5 separate regions of the Homo sapiens genome follow, and all the other regions are linked to region 5. The links are contacts of gene promoters, found by promoter capture Hi-C in blood cells and fetal thymus (Javierre and others, 2016). All regions are on one chromosome and are shown on one strand. Each heading gives the region's core, a stretch centred on a gene start or on the middle of the fragment in contact. The rest is flanking DNA. Distances are from core to core; before and after follow the strand shown. Region 1 holds the start of RPS3A (ribosomal protein S3A). Region 2 holds the start of RAB33B (RAB33B, member RAS oncogene family). Region 3 has its middle 5.6 kb from the start of SETD7. Region 4 overlaps NDUFC1 (NADH:ubiquinone oxidoreductase subunit C1). Region 5 holds the start of ANAPC10 (anaphase promoting complex subunit 10).

The links. Contacts are between HindIII fragments. The CHiCAGO score rates a contact against its expected background, and 5 or more counts as called.
Region 1: the fragment with the promoter of RPS3A here is called in contact with the fragment with the promoter of ANAPC10 in region 5 in 1 of 17 cell types (total CD8 T cells); the score reaches 8.1 in total CD8 T cells.
Region 2: a fragment that was not itself captured here is called in contact with the fragment with the promoter of ANAPC10 in region 5 in 2 of 17 cell types (non-activated CD4 T cells and naive CD4 T cells); the score reaches 8.2 in non-activated CD4 T cells.
Region 3: a fragment that was not itself captured here is called in contact with the fragment with the promoter of ANAPC10 in region 5 in 1 of 17 cell types (monocytes); the score reaches 8.6 in monocytes.
Region 4: a contact is called between a fragment that was not itself captured here and the fragment with the promoter of ANAPC10 in region 5, in 1 of 17 cell types (naive CD8 T cells). The highest score is 6.8, in naive CD8 T cells.

The regions. Positions count from the first base shown.
Region 1 is chr4:151,097,241-151,101,304 of GRCh38, forward strand. RPS3A (ribosomal protein S3A) reads left to right here and starts at 2,388. Exons shown (of 6, transcript NM_001006.5): 1 at 2,388-2,474; 2 at 3,245-3,348; 3 at 3,735-3,922. The coding sequence starts at 2,413. RefSeq lists enhancers at 1,298-1,367, 1,645-2,844, 2,143-2,727, 2,148-2,707, 2,728-3,311. The HindIII fragment of the contact is 1,842 bases long and covers 1,035-2,876 here.
Region 2 is chr4:139,452,437-139,456,847 of GRCh38, forward strand. It overlaps RAB33B (RAB33B, member RAS oncogene family), which reads left to right and starts at 1,685. Exons shown (of 2, transcript NM_031296.3): 1 at 1,685-2,008. The coding sequence starts at 1,760. It overlaps RAB33B-AS1 (RAB33B antisense RNA 1), which reads right to left and starts at 1,605. Exons shown (of 1, transcript NR_159964.1): 1 at 1-1,605. RefSeq lists enhancers at 973-1,312, 1,933-1,982 and a silencer at 1,383-1,712. The HindIII fragment of the contact is 749 bases long and covers 1,044-1,792 here.
Region 3 is chr4:139,559,744-139,563,862 of GRCh38, forward strand. No RefSeq gene overlaps it. Among named protein-coding and RNA genes, the nearest start is that of SETD7, 5.6 kb to the left of the region's middle. The HindIII fragment of the contact is 1,271 bases long and covers 1,181-2,451 here.
Region 4 is chr4:139,290,213-139,294,547 of GRCh38, forward strand. NDUFC1 (NADH:ubiquinone oxidoreductase subunit C1) reads right to left here. Exons shown (of 6, transcript NM_001184989.2): 5 at 2,318-2,397. The coding sequence ends at 2,338. Among named protein-coding and RNA genes, the nearest start is that of NAA15, 9.1 kb to the right of the region's middle. The HindIII fragment of the contact is 965 bases long and covers 2,303-3,267 here.
Region 5 is chr4:145,095,552-145,099,632 of GRCh38, forward strand. It overlaps ANAPC10 (anaphase promoting complex subunit 10), which reads right to left and starts at 2,645. Exons shown (of 5, transcript NM_001256706.2): 1 at 2,569-2,645; 2 at 434-560. The coding sequence starts at 548. It overlaps ABCE1 (ATP binding cassette subfamily E member 1), which reads left to right and starts at 2,760. Exons shown (of 18, transcript NM_002940.3): 1 at 2,760-2,868. RefSeq lists enhancers at 1,900-2,771, 2,019-3,218, 2,352-2,401, 2,482-2,741, 2,772-3,643 and 1 more. The HindIII fragment of the contact is 4,584 bases long and covers 1-3,696 here.

The DNA.
Region 1 (4,064 bases), core at 1,138-3,637, 6.0 Mb after region 5:
TCTGACAAATCCCTTAGGTGCTGGTGCTGCTAAAATAAATTAGATGCAGCTGACTTCATTAAGGTCTCTCCCTGTGGCTTTCACTCTTGGGCAGAAAGAGGAATCAGACCAGGAAGAAGGTAAGTTTGGTTTTTATGCTGGAGTAGGCAGACTGGGGGCCCATAATATATACATATACATACATATATATATATATATATATATTTTTTTTTTTTAGATGGAGTTTCACTCTGTCCAGCCCAGGCTGGAGTGCAGTGGTGTGATTTCGGCTCACTGCAGCCTCCACTTCCCAGGTTCAAGCGATTCTCGTACCTCAGCCTCCCGAGTAGCTGAGACTACAGGTGTGCACTACCACGCCCAGCTAATTTTTGTATTTTTAGTAGAGACGGGGTTTCACCATGTTGTCCAGGCTGGTCTCGAACTCCTGGCCTCAAGTGATCCATCTGCCTTGGCCTCCCAAAGTGCTGGGGATCCTCCTACCTCAGCCTTCCGAGTAGTTGGGACTACAGGCATGAGCTATCAAGCCGGGCTAATTTTTTTTTATTTTTAGTTGAGATTAGGTCTTGTAATGTTGCCCAGGCTGGTATCAAACTCCTGAGCTCAAGAAAACCTCCTGCCTTGGCCTCTTAAAGTGCTGAGATTACAGGCATGAGCCACCACCTGGCCAAATTAACCATCTTAATCATCTTTTTAAAAAAGAGATGGGGTCTCACTATGTTGCCCAGGCTGGAGTCCTACTCCTAGCCTCAAGTGATCCTCCTGCCTCTGCCTTCCGAATACCTGGAACTAGCGGCCTGAGACACCTGGCAGGGCTACCTTAACCTTTTTTAAGTGTAGAGTTCAGTAGTGTTAAGTACATTCATACTATTATGAAACTAAGACTTTGAATTTATCCTCCAGGCAACTGAGATTTATGGAATTACTGAAAGATTTCAGGACCCTACTAGAGGTTTAGGAAGGTTGTCTTGGGGGGTGGGTGTAGTGGGAGGTAGGGGATGGAGGCTAGCAGGACTGGAAGGGATTGTAAGTTTAAAAGCTTGCAGGGGGCCTTGTAAGTAAGGGTTGGTTTTGGCTTGGTCACAGGGTTTTCTGCCAGAGGGGAAGTTAGAGAAGGGAACTCAACACACCACTGGCTGAGTACCAAGCCTGTATGGGCCAGATGCTTTCCGAGGGCTGCACACTTGAGCTAGCCAGCCACACCTTGCCAGGATGTGCTCTGTTAACCCCTACAGTTAAAAAAAATGGGGGAGGCGGGTTTGGATTAGTTGCAAAAATGGAAACATTTGGAGATCTCACTTTTTTTTTTTTGACGCAGTTTCACTCTTGTTGGCCAGGCAATGGCGCGATCTCGGCTCACTGCAACTTCCGCCTCCTGAGCTCAGATTCTCGTGCCTCAGCCTCCCGAGTAGCTGGGATTACAGGCACCCACCCGGCTAATTTTTTGTATGTTTAGTAGAGACGGGGTTTCACTATGTTGGCCAGGCTGGTCTCGAACTCCTGAGCTCAGGCGATCCGCCCGCCTCAGCCTCCCAAAGTGCTGGGATTACAGGCGTGAGCCACCGCGCCCGGCCAACGCCCTGCTAATTTTATCATTTTCTTGTAAAGACGGGGTCTGGCTGTGTGGCCCAGGCTAGTCTCCAATTCCTGGCTTCAGTTGATTCCCCTGCCTCAGCCTCTTAAAGTGCTGGGATTACAGGTGTGAGCCAACGAGTTCGGTCTCACTCTATTTTAAAAAAACCTTTTAATCAATATATAACAGACATATAGAAAAGGACACAAATAAGCGTAGAGCTTAGTGAATGTTCACAAAGCAACAACACCTGAGATGAACCAGCATCCACATCAACAAGCAGAACGTCGCTAGCATCTCTGGAGTGATGCTCATTTAGCCCTATGAAACCTCATGAAGCCGACCGTTTTATCACCCCCATATTACGCATGAGGAAACAAGCGTGGAGAGGTCGGTCTCAAGCAAAGCCCTGTTGAAACCGGCATTTGAATCAGATCCGCTGACTGACTCCAAAGCCAATGCTCTCAAAAAGCAGGTTTGGGGGTTAGACGGTGAGTTCAGCTTTGAACGATGTTGAGTGGGCGTCTCGTTTTACAGAAACTTACTTCCCGACGTCACAGCCACAGAAACCACAGGTAACCAGACGCCTGCACGTCAGGCCACCGACGCCTTGGTCTACACAGCGCAGCCTCCAGTGAGCCCGCGGCATGCCGCGCGGCCTCCCCACACACGATGGCGATGTCGCAACCACAGTAGAAAGAGTGGCGCTCTCTACTGTCCCGGAATTCTTGAGGCCGGAAGAATAACAGGGCAAAGGTCACGTAGACGGCGCGCCCCGCCCCCGTACGCCTAAGTTCTCGCGCGACTCCCACTTCCGCCCTTTTGGCTCTCTGACCAGCACCATGGCGGTTGGCAAGAACAAGCGCCTTACGAAAGGCGGCAAAAAGGGAGCCAAGAAGAAAGTGTAAGTCGCGACTGTCGTGGCGTCTTGCTTTTTGGGGGTCTGCTGGAATCGGCGGGCTGGTCCTAGATCGCGGCGTAGGCCGGATGGCGAGGATTCCAGTCGGATTGTGCGGGCCGTGGCGGGTTGGTGCACCCAGGAACGCGGCCTGGAGGGTCGGTGTTGAGTAGCGGCAGGTCGGCTGCCTTTCCCAGGCCTTCTGGTCCTTGCGCGCGTCGCGTTTGAGCCGGCTTGCCGGCGCGACTCGGCTGGAATGTTAGTTTTGTGGGCTCACGAGCTGCCTCAATTCTGCGAGTGTTTGATGGCACTGCGACAGCAGGAGTTGAGGAAAGCACCCTTCTATCCATTCAGGACCCGTCAATCTCGCCTTTGCTTGGTCCCGCTGGAATCTGCGAGCTCCTGCTAAGCTTTGGGGCCATGCAGTCTCTTAGTTACCAGTACATGCCATTACGTGCCAGCAAAGTTAATGAGATTGCATGTTACTCGTGCCTGTGTAGTGGAAGGACCGATGCATGTTATTCTAAGTGCCTGTGTAGTGGATGGACCGATGAGGGTGGGAAGTGGACATAACCTTTCAAAGTCTGATGCATGCAGTGAAACGTACAGTGGGAAGAGCTAGATTTATGTTTGTTCCCCTCACCTCACTGTGAGATATACTTTGGTATCAAATTGCCGGTTAGCTTTTTAAAATATTAATGGGAAATACCATTAACAGTGAAAAATACAGTAAGAATTGATCTGCAATGGAACTTAAGCATCTTCTTAAAATCCAGGGTTGATCCATTTTCTAAGAAAGATTGGTATGATGTGAAAGCACCTGCTATGTTCAATATAAGAAATATTGGAAAGACGCTCGTCACCAGGACCCAAGGAACCAGTAAGTAGCTTATTCTTGGTTTGTATTTTCCTTAAGTTGGCGCTTGTATATTGTAGCAGGCATCTTGGTCTGTTGTTGGTCCTGTGGTGGGAGACTTTAAGGAAATGTCAGCTCTTGGTTGCAGCCTTGGCACCTGTGGTGATCATTTTTAGTACAGCACTTGGAGAGAAGCAAGATGGTGCTTTTTGAATTAAGAAAATGTGCCATGGGTAGTTCTGAGCTTCAAATAAGTACTGTTGATAAGTCACTGGTGTCTGGATAGATTTGATAACAAAGGTTAAGGTCTTTATAATTTACCATTAACTTAATTTCTACCCTCAGTTTACAGGCTTGACTTTGCTTATATGGTTCCTAAATGTTAAGATACTTGTTTTTTTCTTTTGTAGAAATTGCATCTGATGGTCTCAAGGGTCGTGTGTTTGAAGTGAGTCTTGCTGATTTGCAGAATGATGAAGTTGCATTTAGAAAATTCAAGCTGATTACTGAAGATGTTCAGGGTAAAAACTGCCTGACTAACTTCCATGGCATGGATCTTACCCGTGACAAAATGTGTTCCATGGTCAAAAAATGGCAGGTGAGACCCAAAGTTCCTTAGAGTGGTTGTGCTATGGGTGTTTGACCAAGGATAGCATGGTTTGATGACTGGAAGGAGCAAGTTCATTTTATTTATTTATTGAGACCAGTGAAATGTCCACAAAGTTCATTTTAAATTTTTG
Region 2 (4,411 bases), core at 168-2,667, 5.6 Mb before region 5:
CCCATTAACCACAGCTCTGAGTTTTCAACTGCTCTTTGTCCTTAAATCTTCAGATTCCCTCCTTTGAATGGGATAGGTAGAGCAGATTAGAAGAAATATATTCCGAGGCTCTCTAATAGTTTCTGGATGATTAACCTTCATGAAAATAACCTCACAGATAAGTAATTAGGATTTTTCAGCCCATTTCTATAAACTAAGTAAACTTTTTTTCTAGTGAACATAACTTGATATATTAGTGACTGTAGAAAGTCTTTCTACAGCAACAGGAATTATATCAAGGCTTTTGCAAATTCCTGGCAACTCCGGGCATGTTTAAGTTCTACTACTCATCTGTTCTGACTATATTTTCATCTGATGGAATAAGCAGTTCATCTCCTTTCCTAGAACTTTTAGTGCTCTACTGTCCCCCTCACTTTAGTTAAGGTCTGCCATGTCCTCCTCTCCGACAGTCCTTGACTTTCCCAATGGCATATTCATCTGCTCAAACAGATGTCACTGCAAAACAAAACAAACTTTTAACAAAAAGCAATGTTTGCATATTTGGGGCCTTTTGTATGACAATATTGCACGTTTCCTCAGAAAAATTCACGGAGATTCTTTAAGGTTGGGGGTTTAATCTATTGATATTTTCCTTAGGTAGACAAAGACAACCTCTAAGTGCGCTCAGTTAATCTTTAACCGCTACATCATCGTCACCCAGGCACTAAGACATAACTAGGGCATAATGAGTTTTATTTCCACCAGGGGCGCCTAGTAACTACCAGGTTCAACGCTCCCAGGTGGCCGACATGTGATGTGCTCTACTGTTTGGGCTGGGGATATTAGCTCAACAAACTCTGGCCACAAGGATCACGCGGATATTCTTGGGGATGCCTAGCGAAATGCGCTGTACCTAGGCCTCGAACTCTCGCCTGCTCTCCGGTGGGCGGTCTCGAACTCCAGCCTGCTCTCCGGCAGCCCACAGCAATGCGCCTGCCAAGACCTTAGGCTGCAAAACTCGCCACGGCCCAGAGCTCGCCTCCAAGTGCGCCCCGCACAGGGCAAGCTTTCGGCGAGGACTCGCGTCCCACCCATCTAGCCCTGGCCGCTGTCCCAACTCCCGCAGTTCACAGAGGCGGCGGCGGTGAGCGCAGCCGATGCCACATCCTCAGCGGCAAGCTGAAGAAACCTGTCTCCTCTCTGGGGCGACCAAACGATACGTCGATGCCGGAACCGACCCGACGCCGGAGCCGTCGGCTCCGTCCTTACCGTTGCTCTCCAGGTACACGCCCCCGTCAAAGGCGGCTCTGCGGCCCTCTCGCGAGAGAGTGCCCGTGGTACCTCCTTCCTCTCAGTTGTCTGTCTCTCCCCGCCCCCGGAGTGATTGCGCGGCTTCCTCCAGAGGGCGGGAACCTTGGACGTGGCGGGGCTGGGTCAGTCAGGGCGCTGGGCCCAGCCTCTCTGCAGGCTGGCCTTCCGCGCTGCCGTGAAGCCCCCGACAGGTCCCACGCCTGCCTAGGTAGACCGGCGCCAGCCCGAGTGACGCCTGGCGTGTGGCCGCGGGCAGGCGGCTCCGTGCGGCGGGGCGGGCGGGTGCCACACCTGTGCGGGCAAGGGCGGGGCGGGAAGGTGCGCAGGCGCGCTCGGGGCTGGTGGGCGGTGGCTCCTGGGAAGTTGCGCAGCCGAACTGGCCGGCTGGGCGCGCGCTCTTGCGGTGGCGTAATCTCTCAGCCTTTCTGTGTCTCCTTTCCTCCGCCTCAGTTTGGGGCGGGTCGGGGGAATGGCTGAGGAGATGGAGTCGTCGCTCGAGGCAAGCTTTTCGTCCAGCGGGGCAGTGTCAGGGGCCTCAGGGTTTTTGCCTCCTGCCCGCTCCCGCATCTTCAAGATAATCGTGATCGGCGACTCCAATGTGGGCAAGACATGCCTGACCTACCGCTTCTGCGCTGGCCGCTTCCCCGACCGCACCGAGGCCACGATAGGGGTGGATTTCCGAGAACGAGCGGTGGAGATTGATGGGGAGCGCATCAAGGTGAGCGGATGGGGAACTGTTGGGGAGGACAGGGTGACAGGTGTCCCAACCCCACCGTGGGCTGGTCGCTGGCCGTGTGCACGGTGTGTGTGCGCTCCATTTTTTTCTCACGCTGATGAGATTGGAGTTGGGGATTGGAAGGATTGCAATACTGCAAACTTCTAAGGCAGCGTTTCTCAGACTTCATTGTGCATGCGATTTACCTGGGGATCTTGTTTTTGAAAATGCAGGCTATGATTTAATAATCTCGCTGATGATGCAGGTGCAGCTAGTCCGTGGACCACACTTTGAGTTCAGGAGTGTAGGGCTTATCTACCGACCCATTTACTGTGTGTGTCGTGTGCTGGGAGTCAGTCAAATATGAACGGAGGAAAAACAGTGAAATTGCGCGAGAATGGAAAATTCATTTAATCAGTAATAGTTATTAAACATTCATTCGAGCAGTGCCTTAGATGTTGTGGAAGTAAAGCCTATTGCCTTTGAGGAAGTACTTAGGTATTCTCTTGCATACAGTTTTGCTGTAGTAGTTTCTTTATGATACTGATTTTAGAAAAATCTATTTTCCTGCAGAAACATTCTATATGTGATAGTTCCTACTCAGGTTGCCAAAAGCATTTCTCATGATGCCACCTCAGACACACGCCCAATTCTTTATTCCCTTTAAGTCGTTATTTTTGGTCCCTGGGACTGGGGACACTGAGTGACAGTAATAGTGGAGAAGGTAGTATAGGCCCCAGGGCAGGTTTGAAGTTCTGAGGGGTTGGAATCTAACAGTGGAATGAGGATCAATGACAAGGCTTAGGCCTCTTGATGGTATAAACCTTAGACACACCTTCATAGCAAGCCACCACTAAATGCCACCTGTTGATGCCACTCCTTAAAACATAGGTGGAACCACCTTGCCTTATACTACTGCTTTAAATCAGCGATCGTCTTTATCTCAGTCTCTTGGTGGGGATGGGGAGTGGTGGGAGAACAGGCTTGCTTTAGACGTTCCTACCCTCGTATCTTAGAGGCAAGAACAATTTATTTTTCAGTTCCCTAATCATCGCCCCCCACCCCAACGGGTTATACTGCTAATGATGGTAGAGGTGAAGTAAGCTGGGTTAAAAGAAATTAACCTTTCTTTGGTGCTTCTGTCTTTTAATTTTTCACATTAGTATTTCATGTCCCATATGAGCTCTCAGTGGTGGTTTTGGAGTTGCTTTGTATTAGGGAATTTAGAAAGATTTGTATACTTGCAGAAGAAAAGATAGAATAAAAGGCTAAACATTTTTCACCAGAATTAGGTTTGGCCCAGAAGCCTTTGGGGTGAAAAATAATGGAGCTTCTGAAGTTCCAAGGGAGTTAAGATTGGGAGAAGCAGGAATCTGGGAAGTACGTGGGCTTTGGAGCCCAACTAACCTGGATTCATATCTGAACCTACGAAAGGGTAGGGATGGGCTGCGTGTCCTTACTAGGGTGACCAACTTTGCCCAAGACTGTCCAGGTTTTAAAACTGGGTCTCACATCCCGGGGACCCCCTGTATTGGGCACACCAAAATAGTTGGTCACCCTGGACCTTAGGCAGATTCTTTAACCTCTCAGAGTCTGTATTTTTCTTCCGAAAAACTGGGATCATGATACCTTATCAGGCTGCTGTGAGGATCAGATGAGGACATATATGAAGCACCTGGTTCATAGTTGGTGCCTTTAAAAAGATTCTTTGTCTTTCCTGGTGGCTTAACATTATTTTTCCTGTTTGCCACCATTAGTTCTGCAGTTGTACACCCAAAGTTGAAAGCAGAGATAGTGGAGGGCATAGGTAGACAGCTAAGGGGAGAGAAATTTAAAAAACAAAACAAAAACAAAAACGGAAGTAGGAAATTCTTTCAAAAGTGGAGAGAATGAGGGTGGGGGAGGAGTTGGGATTTGAGGGCCCTTTATCTGTTCCTGGGTTGCCATTTATACTTAAAGATAACAGATGAATCAGGTGCAAATTTAAGAGATAATAGTATTGAAAAAATATAAAGCATGTGCAGTGTATAAAGTCAATTACCTAACTACTGAGGTGAGTGCTGGCAGTGATAAATAAGACAGAACCACAGGTATGACGAATCTGGGAGCACAGAGTTGATAATTCTGGTTGGGAAGAGCAAGGAGATGATATTTTTTGGGGAGATTATTTCTACTGAACTTTAGCCTAACTTGTTACATTGATATGGACTTGAATACTGAGATCATTTTTCTTCTAAGGCCCTAGCCGTTGATTTGTGCCACCAATGGTGAGACTTGAGAGAGATTTTTATTGTGGTTGAAATGACTACAGACATGTTCTGAGGTTTCTATAGTAGGAAAAGATATAGCTATGTTGGGCATTTTTTAAAACCACAGAGCTTAATTTTTTTTAGTGCCCTTTTTTTC
Region 3 (4,119 bases), core at 566-3,065, 5.5 Mb before region 5:
TAGGGGAAACAATTCTGTCAATTCGCTGCTATGCATGCTAAGCGAATTGTGAAACAAGTAGTGAATGTGGAACTTATGTGGGATTCACTACTGTTGGCTGTTACTGACTCCTCATCCTGCCCGCTGGCAGGGAGTGGAGGGGCCCAAGCAGTCTTCTGGGTCTCCATGTATTTGGGAGGGAGGAGCCTCTGAGACCTCAGCGGTAGGAAGTCGCATCAGAGCCTCTCCAGAAGCCCTGGTGGCTTTATGGTTGCTGGCCTGGCTCTGGTTTCCATCACTTGCTTACACCGCCAGCAGGATGACAAGGATAAAATTAGTGAAAGACCTTTTAAATAATCATCAAGTCTCGTTTTGGCACTGCTCACTCCTTCACAAGATTTTTTCCCACCAAATTAGCCAGTTTGATTGAGTTTTTGCTTTGTCTGTTTTGGTTCCACCAAGAACTAGCCAAGCAACTGGGCAATTCAGTTCTGCGGGGGCCGGGGGGGGGGCCTTCGTTTTCCCATCTGTAAATGAAGAGTTGGGCTACATAAATTCGAAGCTCAAACCTTCTCTGTCCACCTTTTCTGGAGAAAAGGTAAATAGAGCCTGAGAAGCCCCAGGAAAAGGCACATAAAAAGGAAATGGGAAGAAGCCAGGGCAACTCCAACAAACTGAATACTCAAGTCCTCTCACGTTAATGGCTCTATCTGGGCAGGCAGGTGAGGGGAGAACCTTTATCTTGACTCTAGGGAGGGAAGCATGGAAGTTTTAGGAGAACCAAGGTTCCTGGGTTCTGAATCACTGAGTCACTAATCAAGTGGCTAACTGTGTTAGTGACAACTGCAGAAGCTGGAGGGAGGGGCTGGGAGAGGAGCAGCGAGGAGGAGACGGGTGGGGGAGGAGATGGGGATGAAAGGGAAGCGTTTGCAGCTTGTGGAGCACTGGGAAGAGCAGGGACATCAAGGGCACCAAATAAAGGTCCAGGGAGCAAAGAAAGAAATGGAGAAAATTCATTCTGCTGGAAATAGACATGAGTGCAGTCAGGAAGAAGACTTACAGATTCAGGGTGACCTGATTTGATTACAGCAACAGGAAGTGCAAGAGAGAGAGGGCAGAATAACCTGACCTAAGGAAGTGAATTAAATAATAGAGAAGACACCACAGTTGCCATGGTATTAAAATACCTCATGCCACATTAAGCTTCCTCTTTCTCTTTTGCTTGATTCTTGTTTTTGCAACATGTTAATGTTGCAATGACATGTTAATGTCATTGCAGGGTATCCAGTAAACTAAATTTAGACTTTCTGGGGCGGGGAGGGGAGGGAAGATGCAGCCCAGATCTCCCTGTTTGGGTCGACTCTGGGCCAATATTGTTCCTTCACAGAGTTCTTGGGGTTTTTTGCATTATGGGATATGAAAACTCTTATGTCAGGCTTGGGCCTAGTGAAGCTGCTGAGTGAAATGATTGAAAAAAAAAAAATGAGGCCAGGCACGGTGGGTCACGCCTGTAATTCCAGCGCTTTGGGAGACAGAGGCAGGTGGATCACCTGAGGTCAGGAGTTCATGACCAGCCTGGCCAACATGGTGAAACCCTGTCTCTACTAAAAATACAAAAATTACAAAAATACAAAAACTGGTGGTGCATGCCTGTAGTCCCAGCTACTTGGGAGGCTGAGGAAGGAGAATCACTTGAACCTGGGAGGCGGAGGCTGCAATGAGCCGAGATGGCATCACTGCACTGCACTCCAGCCTGGGCCACGGAGTGAGACTCCATCTCAAAAAAACAAACAACAACAAAAAAAACCCTCACACACACACACACACACACAAAGAAAAATTGGAAATAGTTTTCAAAGGGGCATCTGTTTTAGAAATTACTTTAGAAAAACAATAGGATTGCAGAAACTTGAAAAATAAAGACAAACCGCCACCAAAACCAAATGTGTTTTCATAGATATTATTTTCTCTAATTGTTTTTGAAAAATTACTTTACTAGGCTAAAATTAAGATTATTGAGTCCTGCAATTGGTCCTCTGCAAAAGTAGACATTGCAGAGGGCAGGTACATGGTATACTCTTTTGACACTACAATATCCAGGATGGGCAGAGGAGTATTTCCAGCTGACCTATTTACCACAAATGTCATAACATTCATCAAGGGTCAGCTCTTGACCTTCCTCAAGTGGACTCACATTAACTAGACCCCGAGAGACTGAGATGTATGCCTGAATTATGATGGACAGATCAGAATACTCACACTGTCAGGGCAAAAGATCTCTCTATATAAATAAATGCACTTGAGAAGACAAATTCCATCCAAAAGTTTGCTTAGTTATCTGGAGTAGAATGAAGGACATTAGTTGTGTGGTCCACAAGACAAATACTCTGATACAGTGTTCTGAAAGAATGAGGCTGCCCACCCATCCCACTCACCTCTGCTTAGATGGGCCCTATGGCTTCTGAGGCTTCAAGCTTCTTTCTCCGTGCTCTAGTTTCTCCAAACCTGATTCTCCACACAGCGTCCTATACAGCCCATTAGGCAGATTTACACTTTCTAAGTCATAATGACATTCTCTATCTTCCTGGCATTACAGCCAAGTCACTTTAATGGGAATTTGAGGTAATCCTCAAACTTCTCAGTCACAAATTGAGTCACTCTCTTGGTTTATGCCCACTGAATTCTAGTCAAAACCATTGAGTGTGCAGATTTTGGTAGTCAAACTTTCTGAGAGCAACCTGGTTCTCAAGTTCTTGGGAAAGCACCTCATTTCTGCTTCACAAGCCATCAACAGTGGGCCAACCTTCTTAGGCTACCATGATTTCTGAGAAAGAGACCAGAGACATATTAAGACCCACGTGGCCTGTCCTGTGATACAGTCATCCAAGTTTTCCTGGGCACTCAGCTCAAAGATATTTCTATTCTGTGCAGGAGTGGAGAGGTTGGCTCTTTGCTATGATAGCTTAGGCAACGGAACGCCACCTTGAGGATGCAGATTCCATCTACTATAACATAGATGGAGGGCAAAGTGTCCTCTTCATTTTCCAAATGGGACTGTCTGGCTTTGAATCCAATATCCAGAAATGAAAATACCCATGTGGTCCTCTTCACTCAGTCACAAACAAAGACAGGTTGATTAGAGTGTTTCTGGGACCTGGCACTGAAATGACAACCCTCGATCTACAGGCAGCCCTCACCCGGAGGTGCTTGATGCTAAGCCAGCCCTTCCTGTATGTATTTGCTGGAGACCTGTCTTGCAGCCTCTTTGGATCTGGCGTGTCCTTTCAGGTCATTTAAGGTCTTATTGATCCTCCTTGCTGAGTCCATAGATCAATTCTTGGGAAAAGATGCTGTGGCCAACTTTTGGAATGTCTTTCAGACAAATTTAAAGAGCCCTGCTCAAATGCTCCTGTGCTCAAGATAGAGGACCAAAAAGAAAGCAGCCCTGTGGTAGGCCTTGTACTGTCTCCTTGGAGAAAAATGCCAGTTGAGAGTAGGTCTTCTGAAGTTATAAGCATCACTTCCCAACCTGGCATCTGGGGAATGTCTTAAGTCTGAGATAGTGTGAGTTCTTCAGCAGAGCAGGGAGCCTGGTTATTACTCAGCTGTAAAGTCTTGGCACCTCGACCTCACCTGTGTCCCCTGTTCTGTGCTCTCCCCCAAGATGGTGTGGCAAAGGTTGTGATTTGAACCAGGTCAGGTTCATTCTCAGTTGTAGACAAGATAAGAGAGAGGGGCAAGTCAGTGATCTCTCCCTTCTCGCCAATCCTATAGAATTTGGAGTATCTGCAACTAACTTTCCTTAATATTTCAAAATAATCCTTCTGAAAATGTGCATTGAGAATTGTGGAATTGGTTATATCCAAGCAGAGTCATCTTGTTTATAGGCTCATTTTCATCTAAGGGGCTATTTTTATTGCTGACATATACCTTTCAAGTATTTGGAAAGGTTTATCGTGAATGGAATGTATCCTGAATGGAATGTAATTTGGCATCTCTGAGCTCATTTGCACCACACAATAATTCATCCCCAAGACCAGAGATGTTTAAGGACTCTCCCAGGATCCCACAACTGAAATGTGGCCAAATGAGGCTCAAATCAAGGCCCATTGGGTCTTCAGCCATACTTCACACTTCATG
Region 4 (4,335 bases), core at 1,535-4,034, 5.8 Mb before region 5:
ATACCTTATTTTATTTAATTTTAACAAAAAATATTTTGCCTTAACTATGAAAGAACAGCAAAAGCCATCTGGTTTGTATTTCAATGCCTATTTCATTTTTACCTCTTTTTTTTTTTTTTTTTTTTGGTAGAGACAAAGTCACTATGTTGCCCAAACTCCTGGGCATATGCTATCCCGCTGCCTAGGCCTCCCAAAGTACTGAGATTACAGGCATGAGCCACCAAGCCCAGACTCATTTTATCTCTTGATTGGCTGATTAGAGTAGTGAAATGGGCAGGGTGCTAATAGAAAAAAGGCAAAAGATTTGGATAATCAACAGTAAAGAGCTCAGTTTCAGAGTTATAAAATATGGAAAAAAAGGATAGTCTGTGATCGCTATGTTTATTATACAGCAGATATAAGTTACTTAATCAACCCAATTATGAAAGCTGAGATTTTTAAGTGACTGTTCACTTATAAAAGGATTAATATAGGATTTTTAAAAAAGGTTTTCAGAAATACACCATATATATATATATATATGTACACTGTATATGGTATACTTATATATATTTGATACATATCTATAGATGAATATATTATTTATTCATTCATTTATTTTTGAGACAGAGTCTTGTTCTGTTGCCCAGGCTGGCTGGAGTGCAGTAGCCCAATATTGGCTCAATGCAACCTCCCAGCCTCTGCCTCTTGGGTTAAAGCAATTATCGTGCCTCAGCCTCCCAAAGTAGCTGGGACTACGGGCGCGCACCACCATGCCTAGCTATTTTTTGTGTATTTTTAGTACTGATGGGGTTTCGCCACGTTGGCCAGGCTGGTCTCTAACTCCTTGCCTTAAGTGATCCACTCGCCTCAGCCTCTCAAAGTGTTAGGATTACAGGCGTGAGCCACTGCGCCCAGCCAGATGTATATATTTTATATATATATATATAATAAACTTTCTCTTTTAAATCACAGACCATGCAGAATAAACTATCTTGTTCATAACTAGGTTTTTTACCAGGAACTGTCCAACTGGGTATTAGTTGAGTTGACAATCATAATGAAATAGTCATGCAGAAAAAAATTTAAAAATTGATTGCTCTGGCCAGGCGCAGTGGCTCACGCCTGTAATCCCAGCACTTTGGGAGGCCGAGGCGGGCAGATCACGAGGTCAAGAGATGGAGACCATCCTGGCCAACATGGGAAAAGCCCGTCTCTATCAAAAATACAAAAATTAGCTGGGCGTGGTAGCGCGCACCTGTAGTCCCAGCTACTCGAGAGGCTGAGGCAGGAGAATTGCTTGAACCTGGGAGGCGGAGGTTGCAGTGAGCCAAGATTGTGCCACTGCACTCCAGCCTGGTGGCTCCGTCTCAAAAAATAAAATAAAATAAAAAGAATCGATTGCCGTTATACATTCATCACTTCTACAAATATTAAACTCCTAAATGGACCAGATGAGCAAGTTGCTGAATAAAGGATAATTAATAAAATAGGTTTCTGTTCTCATGGAATTCACACTCAAGTGTACAAGATACCAAACAGACATTAAGAAATACACACACGAAGAATAATAATTTGTCATAAGTGCTATGAAAGCAAAGTGTAAAGCACTATCAGATTTAAGAAAATAATATGATTTTGGGTTCATTCTTTTTTTTTTTTTGAGAAGGAGTCTCACTCTGTCACCCAGGCTGGAGTGCAGTGGCACGATCTTGGCTCACTGCAAACTCTGCCTCCCGGGTTCACGCCATTCTCCTGCCTCAGCCTCGCGAGTAGCTGAGACTACAGGCGCCCGCCACAACACCTGGCTAATTTTTTTGTATTTTTGGTAGAGACGGTGTTTCACTGTGTTAGCCAGGATGGTCTTGATCTCCTGACCTTGTGATCCACCCGCCTCGGCCTCCCAAAGTGCTGGGATTACAGGCGTGAGCCACCGCGCCTGGCAGATTTTGGTTTCATTCTTAAACATACCTTTCTTTGAACAGAGTCAAAGACTAATGATTAAAAATGATTACGCTAAAAGATTCTTGAGGCTAGCAAAGTGGCTCATACCTATAATTCCAACATTTTCAGAAGCTGAGGCAAGGAGTGAGACCAGCCTGGCCAACAGGTCTACAAACAAACAAACAACAAACAAAAAAAACCCCATCCCCCCCAAAACAAAACCAACTGCTTGAGGCAAGGTATTACAAATTTATAAATTTGTCACAGACAGAAATATGGGTGCTAAAATGTATAAACCTAATACAAAACAAACAACAAGCTTGTTTTTCAGTATTTAAAAAAGAGGTCAAGTTAATTTGCATAATCTATTCATCCAATAAGCTTGTATACTTACTACATTAGTGTTTCAAAAGTTTATTCCAGCCCATTTCTTCTTTTGTACTCTAAAATATCTTCATTGTGTTGTTTGATGAGCTACAAAGAGTTAAACAGTTAAAATTAGAAATGTAATCTTCCTGGATACTTATATTTTGTAAAGGAATAAGGATAGAAAAAATAAACAACTATTCTAGTTAGAAATAAAAGGCTAAGAGATCCAAAAGTTCAAAAACCAGGAATGGTATAAACTTGCTCACCACAATGTGACATCCTAAATTTGAGAAGGGAGCCCTTAAATATATATATATATATTTATTTATTTATTTAGAGACGGAGTTTTGCTCCACCCCAGGCTGGAGTGGAATGGCGTGATCTTGGCTCACTGCAACCTCCTTCTTCTGGGTTCAAGCGATTCTCCTGCCTCAACCTCCTGAATAGCTGGGATTACAGGCGCCTGCCACCACGCCTGGCTAATTTTTGTATCTTTAGTAGAGATGGGGTTTCACCATGTTGGCCAGGCTGGTCTCGAACTCTGAGCTCAGGTGATCCACCCGCCTCGGCCTCCCAAAGTGTTGGGATTACAGGCATGAGCCACCGCACCTGGCCAAAAATTTAAATTAAACTACTGCCAAAAATTTTACCTCATTTGGTGGGTAATAAACGTAATGAAATGGCTTATCATGAAGGGGTAAATCAATATGATACAGCACAACTTGGTTATTAAATGGGATCCAGGCTGGTTGGTGGGTGCGTGTTATGCTTCTAATCTTAGAAGTAGGATACCTTGATTGAATGACCAACCCCATCACGAAACTGTATGTGTATTAATTAGATGTCATGGAGGACAGTCACATTTTTAGGACCACTGTCTGACAGAATATGCAACTGGAAAAATGGCTTATATACGATGACATTCATGGCAATCAAAGATCCAAGTTCAATCACTAGTGCTCTCAGCAGTAATTAAGCTTCTTGTTAGAGAAAACCTTAAATTAAGAATGTATAAAATTCATTATAAGCAACATTATTCAAAAAGATGAGTTACTATTAAGTTGTAAGTGACTCAAAATCTCTCACCCCTTTCCAAGTCAAAAATCTGAACCACTTCAACAAGAAAATTTAAAATATCTTAGAGCTGGGGGACAGTGGAGGAAGTCCCAAACCCATTAGATAAAAAACAAAATTTTAAATATTAATATAGCAGATACTTTAACTTTAAAAAGAAATTTTATCCCAACAGAGGCAGTGTTTCACAGTCTTTTCTAGGATAGTGTGGCCTCTGAAGTCAGGAGAACTGGGTTCAGCAAACTAGTTTCTCCAAGTGTTTCTTATCTGTAACGGGTCAACAATAGTAGGTGCCACGTAGTGTTGTTGAAATGATTAAACGCAAGTTTATGTGTAAAGCATGTGGTGTGAATTTTTTTTTTTTTTTTTTTTTTTTTTTTTGAGACAGAGTCTCGCTGTATCTCCCAGGCTGGAGTGCGGTAGCACGATCTCGGCTCACTGCAAGCTCCACCTCCCGGGTTCACACCATTCTGCTGTCTCAGCCTCCTGAACAGCTGGGACTACAGGCGCCCTTCGCTACACCTGGCTAATTTTTTTTGTATTTTTGGTAGAGACGAGGTTTCACTGTGTTAGCCAGGATGGTCTGGATCTCTTGACCTCGTGATCCGCCCACCTTGGCCTCCCAAAGTGCTGGGATTACAGGTGTGAGCCACCACGTCCGGCCTGAAAATTTTTTTAAAAAGGTCGCTACACACTATGTACAATTTCCAACAATGTATTTATACAAACATTGATTAAAACCTAATGGAAGTCTACTGGGATTCAATTTGTACAACTTGCACACTGCTGGTTTGTCCTTACAGCATCTGAAAAAGGTACCTTCATAAAACTCCAATTAGCCTCAATTCTCATTAAGAAATAAAGTATAATTACTATTGCCGGGCGTGGTGGCTCACGCCTGTAATCAGAACACTTTGGGAGGCCGAGGCGGGCGGATCAATAGGTCAGGAGATCGAGACCATCCTGGCT
Region 5 (4,081 bases), core at 1,395-3,894:
TTGTCAGAAGGTTAATAGTAGCCTAACACTACATCACAACACCTACATTCTTCACCTCACTCGCTCTCATCACATAGACATTTTATCTCTCACATCATCGCAGGAGGAAGGGTACAATATAATATTTTGAGAGCGAGAGAGACCACTTTCACAAAACTTTTATTACTTTATTACTTCTATTGTTATAATTGTTCTATTTTATTATTAATTATTGTTAATCTCTTACTGTGCCTAATTTATAAATTACACTTTATCACAGGTATTTATGTATAGGAAAAAACATAGTATTAATATAGAAAGGGTTCAGTACTATCCATGGTTTTAGGCATCCACTGGGAGTCCTGGAATGTATCCCCTGGGATAAGGGGAGATGCCTGTACAAGGAAACTGCAAGTGACTATTTCCAACAGCTTTTTTGTTTGTTAGTTTTTACCTGGTTTGCAAGATGAGAGTGACCAAACAGCTTGTGACCCAATTTCCCGTACTGTTCCAGTCCTTTCCAACTGCTTGGGGTCAGCACCAGGAGGTGTCTTGTTTGGTGTAGTCATTTTTAAAATATTCTATGTAGAAAACAAGAATGCACACATTGTATCAGGAACTGGGCATCTTTCTACAAAAGTTTTTTACCAAGAAAAATTTAATGGAACTCATATACCCTGACATTAATCATTTATTCTGAAGAATGCAGTTAATATAATTAAATCACTGTAATTTAAATCTTAGGGGCTGGGCATGGTGGCTCACACCTGTAATCCCAACACTTTGGGAGGCTGAGACAGGAGGATCATGTGAGCCCAGGAGTTCAAGACCAGCCTGGACAACATGGCAAGACCCCATCTCTATTTTTAAATAAATAAAAATCTTAGGAATTCAGGTTTTGTTTCATATGACCAGATATGCAAAGCAGTGAGCTATAGTAGTCAAAAGAGCACAGAATCAAAGTTTTGGCTTCAGTATCTCCTTTAATCAGCCTAGACTTTGAGTAGGTCTGGGCTTTATTTCCTCTCCTGTTAAAGAGGTTCACTTGATGATTTTTACTTCTACAATGCTATGCAGTTCTATAATTCTGTGCCTGAAAATTCAAATGACTTTTAGCCCTAGAAAAGTCAGACTGAAATACTTTTATTCTAGGAATATATAAATATTGATCCTCATTTTATTTACTTAATTCCTTTTTTTTTAGAGACAGGATCTAGCTATGTTACCCAGGCTGGTCTTGAACACCTTGCTTCAAGCGATCCTCCCACCTCAGCCTCCCAAGTAGCTGGGATTACAGGTGTGATCCCATCACCCCACTAAGATCCTCATTTTAAATATTCATTGAGTGATGCAGAGAACAGTCATACCTGCCCTCTAGCTGTCAAAAGTTTTATTTAAGACCCAGCCCGGTGGCTCACACCTGTAATCCCAGCAGTTTGGGAGGCCAAGGCAGGTGGATTGCTTGAGCCCAGGAGTTCGAGACCAGCCTGGAATATGGTGAAACCCTGTCTCTAAAAAAATTCCAAAAAATCAGCCTGGTGTGGCGGCACACACCTGTAGTCCCAGGGGGGCTGAGACAGGAGGATCACCTGAACTGGGAGGCGGAGGTTGCAGTGAGCCGAGATCGTGCTACTGCACTCCAGCCTGCGTAACAGAGCAAGACACTGTCCCAAAAAGCACAAAAATAAGAAAAAAATGTTAAAAGTTCACTTACATATGCTCTTACCATAGAAGATAAGGTCAGGAAAATGGCTTCAAGATTTTGAAGTGAATAACTGGCCCATTCTAAAAAGGTTGACCTCATCTTTCACATCTTTTGTTAATTTTACTAAGTCTATTCATATGTGAAAAAACACTTCAATACTGGATCGTGAACAATATGTAAAACTGCTTTGGTAGCGCAGTTACTGCTACTGAACATTGTTATATATGCTATTCAAAATAGGTGCAATAGTTCTGCATACCGTTTCCTTGACACCTCCCATTGTATCCGAAGTTGTTCTTTAATCGGCACACAAGCACTTGATACTTACTAAATAACGGCAGACACAACGGACTGTAAACTTTGGCAAGGCCTGAGGCTTAAACGCTCAATAAGTAATTTACTGAATGAATAAACAGATGAATAGGTTCAGTTATGAACTAGTTGTCACTTGCCTGCAAGTTAGGTGAGATCTAGGGCGAGACTATTCAACCTGCAACCATCATTACTAACTGAATGTCCTGTTACCTAAAAAAAGATAGAAATAAAGCCCATCTTTAGGGCAGAATTCAACTGCCGGACTTGGGACTGGACGCCACCAAGTGGATAAAATATGGAGCTCGGAAAAGATTGGATTCCCGGCCCTGAACTGACCACACAGTTGAGAGGAAGTTGAGGCCTAGAAGAGCGCGCAACAGTAAGCCGTGTCGGCACCAGACTCTGTTGGTCCTACTGACACCTCCAGCGTTAGAATGACTAAGGCTCCACTCCTGACCCACCGGCCTTGAGGAAAGCGCAAACGTAAAAAAAGATTGAAACCGGAGAGGCGAATGCATCTGTTTACGCTAGGACCACGCTCGACGTCGGAGAAAAGCCCACACACTCACAGTTTCCAGACCTGGCTGCTTGCCGAAACTCAGATTCTCGGCACCTCCAGCAGCTGGCTTCGCCAACGGCGTTGAACAAGGGTCGCAGCTCAATGACGTCATATCTCCCTACCTACCTCCAGGGTTCCGCCTCACGCTCTATGTCGCGCGCGCGCACTACGTCCTATGGCTTGCGCGTGCGGCGGCTGGGCACCGCCATTTTGGCCGGTGGCCGTGAGAACACGCTGTGTGGCTGAAAAGTGAAGGCAAGAGCTGATTTGGCCTCTGTGCTCCCCTCCGCAAGGGGATCGTTTTCTCCAGGTACGTGAATAGCCCGGAGAGGTTTGGCCGTTAGCTGCCATCTGCCAGGTTGGAAAGAATGTAGGGACGTTCTCCGAGAGCCTTTGGTTAGGCCTTAGGTGGCGGAGACAGCAGCAGCGCGTGGCAGCGGTTCCTGCGGGACAGCTGGAACTGATGGAGCGCGGGCGACGCCGAGAGCTTGGGGGCGCCTCGGTCTTCCCCTCCAGCCGACCCGGCTGTCGCCGCTGTTGCCTGCCACACCCGCGAGGGACTTCGAGAATGGACCTAGATGCCGTAGTCTCCACTCCCCCTTTACCCCACTCCCGCCCTGAAGCTAAACCTGCTGGAGAGGAAGGCACCTTTAGAACTTACAGCACTCTCTAGTACCCCCACACTCCTCCAGCACCCAAAATGGATATATTGTCACATGTGCATATTTGGTTGTGGGAAGTCGTGGCTTCCACGTTTTGTTGAGTGGAATGAGTCATGGCATCTTGCCGCCATGAAGTCGAATACTCGCTGTCCACTCCCAGGCTTTATAGAAATGATGCCCACATGTCACTCTGCTTTTCTCAGAACAGCGTGTACGCAGCTATGACTGGGGTTGTCCCAAGTAGTTTCCCAGTAGAAATCCTATAGTTTTTTTGGTACGCTTTTGTAGCACTAGGCACTTTCTCCCCTTACCCGTTTTTCCTTTTATTGTATCTAATACTCATTGAGATCAAGGTTGATGTCTTTACTCAGAATACCTTTATTATCTCTTCAGGGCTTCGTACATTGTAGGCATTTAATACGTATTGTGAATGAATGACAGCCAAAGCCGAATTCCCACCTCCCATTAACTACATAAGCTTATTTTCTCTTTTTTGATGGTAAAAATCTATAAGAGGAAGAACTGTCCAAATAACATGTTTTATTTTTTTACTCTTTCCCAACAGGACTGCTAACTAGTCATTTATGATAGTGGCATTTATGTTGCAGTAGTTTGTCCCATATTCTGAGAATATTCATTGTATACCAGCCACCTGACACTAATACTTTGTTAGTGTAACCAAAGGCTCAGAACCTGTATTTGAACCAAAAGCTGTTTGGGGTTTGTGAGCTTTTTGAGAACTTAGTTCTCCCCTATTTTAAAAAAGGGAGTTTTTTTGTTTGTTTGTTTGTTGGAAGAGCATCTAACAATTGGGAGAGAGGGGGAGAAAACAATATTAAGTTAGAGTTCTTCTAAATGTCT